2 separate regions of the Homo sapiens genome follow, and region 1 is linked to region 2. The links are contacts of gene promoters, found by promoter capture Hi-C in blood cells and fetal thymus (Javierre and others, 2016). All regions are on one chromosome and are shown on one strand. Each heading gives the region's core, a stretch centred on a gene start or on the middle of the fragment in contact. The rest is flanking DNA. Distances are from core to core; before and after follow the strand shown. Region 1 has its middle 180 kb from the start of GRASLND. Region 2 holds the start of NRIR (negative regulator of interferon response).

Region 1 (4,657 bases), core at 69-2,568, 260 kb after region 2:
CAGAAGATGGAGCGTATTTTAAGGGAGCAGGAAACTGGCAAGTGTAGGTTTGCCCCAGGGAGTTCAAGGTGCTGCAGAATATCCAAGTGGAAAAGTGACCAGTTGACTCAGATTCTAGGCTTCAGGGGAGACACCTGGGTTGGCAACATAGCTCTGGGAAGATTAGTTTATACTTTGAGACCTATCTGAATTTTTCCATGTGAAAGCATTTAGTTTCATGGATGGAGATGAGTGCATTTGGGTGGGGCAAAGAGGAGACAAGCTCAATGAGCAAAGAAACCCTGTGAGGAGGGAGGGCAGGGCCCTGCTGCAGGGAGAGGAGGCTGGGGGGGAAACATTGCTCAGGGACACACACTATTAAGGCTGTCCTGGGGGTGGCAGGGCCTGTCAAATAGAACTTCGCTTCATGCTGCCTTATCCTTCCCGGGTATGAGCAGGTGTTTGGTGCCTCTTCTGTGCCGGTCAGTAGATTCCCCAGACGGGGCAGTAGAATATCTGGGGGCAGCTGGTCACCTCATACACAGGGCTCAGGAGGAAGCGTCTCCTAAGTCCAAGTGGTAATTTTTTTTTTTTTGAGACAAAGTGTTGCTCTGTCACCCAGGCTGGAGTGCAGTGGCACGATCTTGTCTCACTGCAACCTCCGCCTCCTGAGTCCAAGTGATTCTCCCGCCTCAGCCACCTGAGTAGCTGGGATCACAGGCATGTGCCACCATGCCCAGCTAATTTTTGTATTTTTAGTAGAGACAGGGTTTCACCATGTTTGCCAGGCATGTCTTGACCGCCTGACCTCAAGTGATCCACCCATCTCAGCCTCCCAAAGTGCCGGGATTACAGGCGTGAGCCACCGTGCCCGGCCCACGTGGTGAATTTTAAGTGAGCGGCAGATCCTGGCTCTTCACCATCACTTTTTCCCGTGAAAGACATCCAACGATTGAAAACCTTTGAATTTTTAGCTGGTAAAAGCCTCAGCATTTACTTAGCAAATATTGAGACATTGGATGGGAAGCTTCTGATGTTTCAGGCACTGTGTTCCCTGTTCTGAGGAATAAATAAGATACTTCCCTGTAGGATCTCAGAGATTAGCAGGATGATGAGGCAGGAAAGGGGCCAGGTACTAGGCATGGAGTCCCCAGAATGGGGCACAGGGCTGGAAAAGGCCGGGGAGGACAAGCTTTCCTCCAAGGAGAAGGAGGGAGGTGGCTTTGAACCGACCCTAGAGAGAGGCATGGTGGTTTAGCAAAAGGACCCTGGGGTAAGCCATTTAGGAGGCACAGACTGGGGCCAGGTTTTGTTAGCAGCGGAAGGTCTCTGAGTCACAGGGCACCAAAGTATGTTAGCAGCAGCAACTCCGGACCAGTCTGCAGCAACCTCATTCCTTGCCTCCTCGGAAGAAAGAACTCATCTGAGGAGCATTAGGCAAGGGAGAGACTGAGGCAAGTTTCTGAGCAGGAGTGGAGGTTTCTTAAAAAGCTTTAGAGCAGGAATGAAAAGAAGGAAAGTACACTTGGAAGAGGGCCAAGCAGGAGACTTGAAGGACTAGTGCAGGGTTTGACCCTTTGACTTGGGGTTTTATATGTTGGCATGCCTCCGGGGTCTTGCGTCCCTTCTCCCCTGATTCTCCCCTTGGGGTGGACTGCACGCATGCATGGTGGGCTGCTGGCGCTTGGGAGGGGCGCATGCGCAGTGTGTTTACTGGAGTCGTACCCATGCTCCCTTGAGGCGTTCTTCCCTTACCAGCCGAATGTCCCTAGGAGGTCATATGCCACTCACACTCTGCCATTTTGCCTCTTAGTGCGCATGTGTTGAGCCCACTCACCTCACGCCGGAGGAGATCTATCTGAAAGCTGCGGGCTTCAGGTGTTTCTATCTATTGGGAGATGCCGTTCCCTGGCGCCGGCTGCAAACAATTATTATTTTAGAGAGACAGCTAACCAACCGCCTGACCACCACCTGATGGTCGCCCGCCCCTCATGGTGGGGTGGGGGCCCTCTCTGTCCTGCTCTGCCTGACCAGCTACTGACCTAACAGTTTGATGTCCTTGTGAGCCATGCTTAAGGAATTTGAACTGGCCCCTATATGAAATGGAGACCACTGGCAGATTTAAAATTGGGAGTGAAATTTAAATTTCTATGATTTAGAAAGACTTTCTGGCAACTGGATTGGACTTGGAGGATCCTGAGTGCCGCCAGATTGGTTGGGGATGCTGAAGTGCGCAGGACGCCGAGGCTAAGGGGCAGGAAGGGACGGCCAGCATGCAGCGCCACGATTCGGTCAGCAGGTGGCGCGCGAGCACCGCGTTTAACCAGTTTCTAGGTGCGCGTGCTTTGCTGTCTTTTGTTACCATTTTGTTTGTTGTTTGTTTTGGTTTGGGTCTTTTTGTTTTGCGTGTGAGTGATGGATTTTTGTGTCTGCCTTGAGCTCTTCCACCCTATGCCTACTCAGCCTTCTTCAACTTGTGATTTTCTCCCTCCCTCTCTCCACCGTGAGATTAACCAGAATTAGACAGGGCAGCTTAGACAGAGAAAGCAGGTGTGCAGTTTCAGAAAGACCACGTGGCTACAGCCAGCCCAGCTGGCCTTATGTGCCCCACCGTCCTCCACCAGAGCTCTGGAGCCACTTGTCCTGCCCTGGGCCCAGCAGGCATCACAGCCAGTGGGAGGGGCCACAGGCTGCCCTGGGGTGTGGAGAAGCACCCCCTAGCTCCCCATCCCATGCACTCTGGTCTATTTCTTCCTACATCCCAGATGGACTCACCCGATTCAAGAGGCCCCCATCACATCAGCTTCAGCCTTCATCTTGGGAGTCCTTAAATGCAGGACTCAAGAGTCTGCATTTGTTCTTAAGGACAGGAGATTTGCTTTAACTCAGACAATTTCTCCTTATAGACTCCTTTCTTCATAGTAGAAAGAGAAGGAGCCCCCAAAGGCACATCCTCCTAGCAGGTGGTTCTGGCCCCTGTTCTGCCAGTCATCTGCATGCAGCCCAGGCGTGCCACTCAGCCACACTGATTCTCAAGGGCCTCACCAGGAACGTTTTTATCTTTGCCCTATCCTCCAGGATGATGAGAATAAGAGAAAAATAAAGCAAGTATCGAAATTTCTCCTAGAAAAGTGTTTTTAGTAATTTATACCATTTAATCCTTGGATGGGCTATTTGAGCTAGGATTTCTGTTCTCATTGCCTTTGACATTTAATGCCTATGAGACCTTGGGCAACTTCTACCTCGCTGACCTGTAGGTTCAGGTGGAGTTTCTTGCTCAAGTTATGTGCTCCACACCCATAAAATATGGATAATAACACAAATTCATTAAGGATGCCATTAATTGAAAAACAAAGTTGGGCTTAGTATTTCTTATGATTAGTATACTGTCTTAATATCTAACCTGATCGCCAATCCACACTTGGATAACAAGAAGACCTCTATTTTTTAGTCTTTGTTTTGTTTCTCTTTTTATTCTAATTTTATTTTTTAATGGATAAATAATTGTAAATATTCACAGGATACATAGTGATGTTTCAATACATATAATGTGTAGGGATCAGACAAGGTTAATTAGCTTATCCATCGTCTCCAACATTTATCATTTCTTTGTGTTGAGAGAACTCATTTTTTATTTTTTCCATTAATTTCTTAAAAATTTACATCTGTGGAGTACAGGTGCAATTTTGTTACATGTACAGGTCGCATACACTTCAGCAAAGACACTTAATCTGGCACTTATCAAATGCCAGATGCTATTCAGTAAAAGGTGTCAGAGATATTTGGTTATTTATCTTAAGGGTGAGACTTTTGCACTGCAAAGCAAAGTCTTATCACAAGTAAAAAATTTCTGGCCCAGCAACATGAGTGATTCCAGACCATTCTCACGCTGAGGGGCTTGGCCCAGCCACTAGGTTGGGATCAAGGGGCAGTGTGCAGTCTTGTAGTCAACTGGAAATTGGAAGGAAAAAGTGAGAAGACCTTAGGTTTTGCTTCTGGGTCTGTGCCATTAACCAGCCGGGTGGTCTTGGGTGATTCACTTCATGCCTTTGTCCACGTTTCTTATTATTAAAGCAGGACTGTCACCTTTCTATGCCCTCTCACAAGGCTCTCCTGTAGGCCAGATGGAGATAGCGATGGAAAAAGTATTCTGCAACCATAGAGAGCTCTGTAGATGCAGCTGTTAATAAGTGGGTGACTTAATTCTTCGGACGGTTCACAGAACTCTTCTGTAACCTGCTGCTATGTGAAGCACTGGGCAAGAAACAGGGTAAGAGAGTCAGAGCTGAACAAGACTTACTTTCTTCTCTAAAGTTGCTAATATAGAGCCCTGCGGTTTGATAAAATGTAAGCCCATTTATTTATTAAGTTTGTATTCCCTAGATATATTTCCACCAAATAGGAAGATGATTTCATTTTAAAGCTTTAAAAAGAATATACATAAAATATATGCCCTTGGGCTTTATTTTCCATATAGGACCATTTTACTTACCTTGAAAATCTATTTCCTCGATGAGCATTGCTGTGAGGTTTTTACTAGCTACCATATAGGTGATATGGTTAGGCTTTTTGTCCCCACCCAAATCTCCTCTTGAATTGTAATCCCCAGGTGCTGAGGGAGGAACCTGGTGGGAGGTGATTGGATCATGGGGGTGGTTTCCCCTATGCTGTTCTCATG
Region 2 (4,511 bases), core at 999-3,498:
CATTCAACTCTGTGTGGATCAGAAACCCAAATCAAGAATGGCTTAAACCAGGTAGAAATGTGCTCATCACATGTACAAGGAGGCAGGGCCCAGGGCTGTGGTGGCACTCCACATGGGAGTACCATTCATCTTTTTCTCCATCTCTCTGGTTATAGCATTGAGTATGCAAGGTCCAAACATTATCACAAGGCACACGGGAAAAAGAGGTCCTAGTAGAGAGCTAACCAGGTCCAAAACAAAGACTAGAATCCATTAAAAAGGGATTGTAGCCAACTGAGTTTGCATTTTCACCTAATTTGTCAATGATTCTAATTGAGTCTTTAAGCACTCATAAATTCTCCTCTACCTAACTGGAGGTGTTGATCCAGAAACAGCATGTTTCATTTACAAATGCACAAGCGCCCCTTACTTCAGCCATAAGGACATCAAGAGTTTGTCTATTTTGCATGGCCACTGAGGCCAGAGAATTTATGGACTGCTCTTGGGCTTTTATGGCTCCTACAGTTACCTTTCACCCTTGTTACATCATGATAGAAATATTAAGCACTGATCTTTCAAGAAGGGGAACACCGCCAAGCCAAAATAGGCCTCTGGCTATTGCATATTTTATTCCGTTTTTCTAATATAGGATTGCCATGTGCATATTCTTGCCAGTTCTCTCTCTTTCATTTTAATCTCCATATGATGGCATAGAGATAAGTGATCTCCTGTTTTGGTATGTGTGATGGAATGCACTTTCTGTAAAAGAGCCCAAATTGGCGATGTCACCCAACAATGCTACCCTGTCAGTGGGGTTTAAAAATAACAAATTGGGGACCATTGCCACTATAGTGCATGTTCCTCTCCAGCGCCTGGGGAGGAATAAGCATAGCCTGGAGCCACAGAGAAAGTAAAGCCCTGTTCCCTGAAGGGATGGTTCTATGTTGTGATTTATGAGGGTTCCAGCTAAGTTTAGTCCAGGCCTTATAAGGTTGCCTTCCCTACATCTAATTCAAGCATCTTTAGAATAAGGATATCCATACTTAGTATAGTCATCCACAGTATTGTTTGGAACTTTACATGCTGGGAGGGAAGAATCTGTTTGGCAAATATAGTTTTGAAAGATCAGAGACGCAATATGTTCCAGCCAGTATCTTAGACAACCCTCCTTACAGCGGCTATTGGCCCAGACATCCCCTGTTCATTCACAAATCTGCAGATCACTGTCATTATCAAATATCATACAAGGGTCCAGGATTCCATGTGTGGGCATGTTTGGGAAGGACCATGTGCTATTTATTACCTGATAATAAGGTTGGCGAGGGGTGGCATTTCTGCCCGGGGTAGACATTCCCATTGGGAACTCCACCTGGGAGGTCTGGCTAGATTGTTAAAATTTTTCCACAGTCTCTCCCAATGTTTGGTGTCACCCTTGTTCCTTCTTAGTCTCCAGATCTCTGTGCTCTCAGCAATTACAAGCATACTGTTGCAATTATTTAAGGTTTCCCGAGTATGGTCCTTTTCCTTTACTCTTAAAGCAGAGACAGGCATTGGCTATCATTCTATCAACTTCACCTAGTCTAAGGGTGTGAGTTTTACCATCAGGAGGTGTGTCTTTCTGGGTGGAGTTAAAAATGCTCCCATACCATGTTCCCTTTATACCTATTAGGTCCTTAATGATTTAAGGTAAAGCCATCAGAGGGAAACCCTAAGATAGTGAGTTCTGAATCATCAAAGAGTCCATTGGTGTTATTAAACTGAGTAAATTGTTCAGGGCAAACCCAGTAATCAGTCTTGTTGTAGAGATCGGTAATATCTGATATTGTAGGAGCCAAAGAATGTGAGGCATTGCTACATCTAACAGTGAATGCTAGTAAACTTGATAGTAACAAAATCTTCATGTTTATCTCTTGCCTGTGACTACTATCCCTGCTATATGAATAATAACTAAGCAAAAGATTATGGCAATTGAGACTCTTTTCCCAATATTCCACTTAGAAGGTGCCACAGTATGCAGTCCTACTGCAAAGAGCAAGGTGAGTACAACAATTCCCATATGTGTGAAGTAATAAAGTTCCACTTTAAATCTTACTCACCGAGATATATAATTTCTTCGTGGGGGTGGTTTATGAGGTTATGAATGGAATCCCATGGATAATCAAAATCTCCCTGTAAGTATGTGACAAAGAGAAGTTCTAATATCTAACAGCAAATCTCAAGAGGAAAGGTAGAAATGACTTTAGTATCTGGTAAGGAAGGGTGGGATTGAACTGAACAGAGAGTTCCCACTCATTTACTTATCTTTTGGATTTTCAGTTTGAAATCCCCAGACTTTTCACACTGATATCTGAGATGTTCTTCTGGGATGTCAGGGGTCATTCCAGGCCTTGACTCGAGTGTGATGAATCCAAGATTCCAGTCCCACAAACTTCACTGCCGAGCAGGTGGAGAGAAGGATGGTATAAGGTTCCTCCCAGCTGGGACCTAGAGAGGGGAAAAGAGAGGAAAAATCCTTCACCAGTACCAAGTCTCCTTGGTAGAACAGAGGTGGCCCTAGTTCTTGGGGTTGGAATTCTGATAACTGTTTTAATTCCTGCTAGAACTGGGCCAGGGAGGTTACATGTTTAACCAATTCAGAAGTTCTCTGATGTAATATAAAATCATTGGTAAGGAAAGGCCGTCCATATACCATTTCAAAAGGGTGAAGGAACACCCCTTCAACCCCAAATTTGAAGGGGTGCTCCTCACCTGCACTAAGGCTATAGGAAGATAAGCAGTTTAGAGGAGGTGAGTTTCTTGAGACCACTTCCTGAGGTGTCTCTTAATGATATCATTTGTTTTCTCCACCTTCCCTGAAGACTGCAGTCTTCAAGCACAATGAAGATGGTATTGTATGCTCAGTGCTTTTGAGACCCCTTGGGTAACAGCTGCCTTAAATGAGGGGCCATTGTCACTTTGGAGGTATTTAGGGAGTCCAAAACGAGGAATTATTTCATTGACTAATGCTTTTATCACCTTAGAGGACTTTCTGTTTGACATAGAAATGCCTCTACCCAGCTAGTGAAGGCATCCACCCACAACAAGAGGTGCTGAATTCCCCTTATCTTTGGAAAATGGGTAAAATCCATTTGCCAGTCCTCCCCTGGGCAGTTTCCCATTCTTTGTGTTGCTGGGGATGGGGAGATGCCATTTGTTGAGGGGATTGTTTTTGAGGCAGATCTTATAAGCATTAACAATTTGTTTGACTGTTTTTGGTAGATATTTACCTGAGAACAACCTCTGGGCTATTTGATGAGTTTTATTCTTTCCCAAGTGAAAAGTTTGGTGAAGGATCTTAAGAACTTTCCACTGACTGGAGACTGACAAATAACATTTGCCATCCTCTGATTGTAACCATCCTGAGGGCTGAAAAGTGTATCCTCGAGAGGTGGCCCATTCTATCTCTGCAGGAGAATACTGAGGCTTTATTTCCCTTATGGAGCCCTCCCAAATTAGACAGCCTTCAAGTGTGCTGGGACTTTGGGGTCTTCTTACTGCTGACTTAGCTGTTTGGTCTGCTAGCCTATTTCCTTCAGCTATTTCATCCATCCCCTTCTGGTGTCCTTTGCAATGTATCATTGCCACTTCCTGCAGAAGGAAAACTGAGGACAACAATCTATTTCCTAATGGTATTTAATAAAAGAGCCATTAGCAGTCAGGGAGTGTCTTTCTTTCCAAATAGCGGCATGAGCATGAAGAACCAGGAAAGCATACTTAGAATCCATATATATGTTAACTGCCTTAGCTTTGCTTAGTTCAAGCACCCTCATGACAGCAATTAACTCAGCTAATTGAGCACTGTACCTGGTGAAAGAGGTGTGCTTTTAATGATGTCATCCAGGGTGACTATTGCATACCCTGCCCTACAGGTTCCTTGTTCTATAATAGAACTTTACTTGTAAAGACAGCCCAGTCTCAGTTTTCTAGAGGAGTTTCCTGGATGTCCTCTCTGGCTGCATAGGTTTGCATCACTATTTTTTCACAATCATGTTCAGGTTCTCCAATTTCATCTGGAAGGAAAGTGGCTGAGTTCAGGAAAGGACAGGCCTTTAACTGAACTGCAGATCCCTCCAGCAGCAAAACTTAATATTTGAGGAGGCGATTATCTGTTAGCCAGAGACTTCCTTTAGAGGATAACAGTCCCTTTACATTATAGGGGGTGTAAACAATCAGGTCATTCCTCATGCTCAACTTAGTCACTTCTGGCACCAGCAAAGCCACCACTGCAACTGTTCAGAGGCAAGCTGGCCATCCTTTAGCCATCAAGTCAAGTTCCTTGCTTAGGTTACTGGATGGCTGCTGGGCTGGGCCTCAGGCCTGAGTTAAGACTCCCAAAGCTATCCCCTTCCTTTCTGAGATGTGCAGATTAAATGCCCTCCCTATGGAAAGACTGAGGGTTGATGCTTTAAGTAAAGCTTGCTTTAGCTGTTTAAATGCCTTCTGAGCCTTAGGTTCCCAGATCAGGGAGTGAGTTTCAGCTATTGAGTTTCTTT

Evidence for each region. Contacts are between HindIII fragments. The CHiCAGO score rates a contact against its expected background, and 5 or more counts as called.
Region 1: a contact is called between a fragment that was not itself captured here and the fragment with the promoter of NRIR in region 2, in 1 of 17 cell types (erythroblasts). The highest score is 5.0, in erythroblasts.

What each region holds. Positions count from the first base shown.
Region 1 is chr2:7,095,156-7,099,812 of GRCh38, forward strand. No RefSeq gene overlaps it. Among named protein-coding and RNA genes, the nearest start is that of GRASLND, 180 kb to the left of the region's middle. RefSeq lists an enhancer at 2,351-2,480. The HindIII fragment of the contact is 299 bases long and covers 1,170-1,468 here.
Region 2 is chr2:6,838,216-6,842,726 of GRCh38, forward strand. It overlaps NRIR (negative regulator of interferon response), which reads right to left and starts at 2,249. Exons shown (of 4, transcript NR_126359.1): 1 at 2,076-2,249. It also overlaps a transcript of CMPK2 not described here. The HindIII fragment of the contact is 12,024 bases long and covers 1-4,431 here.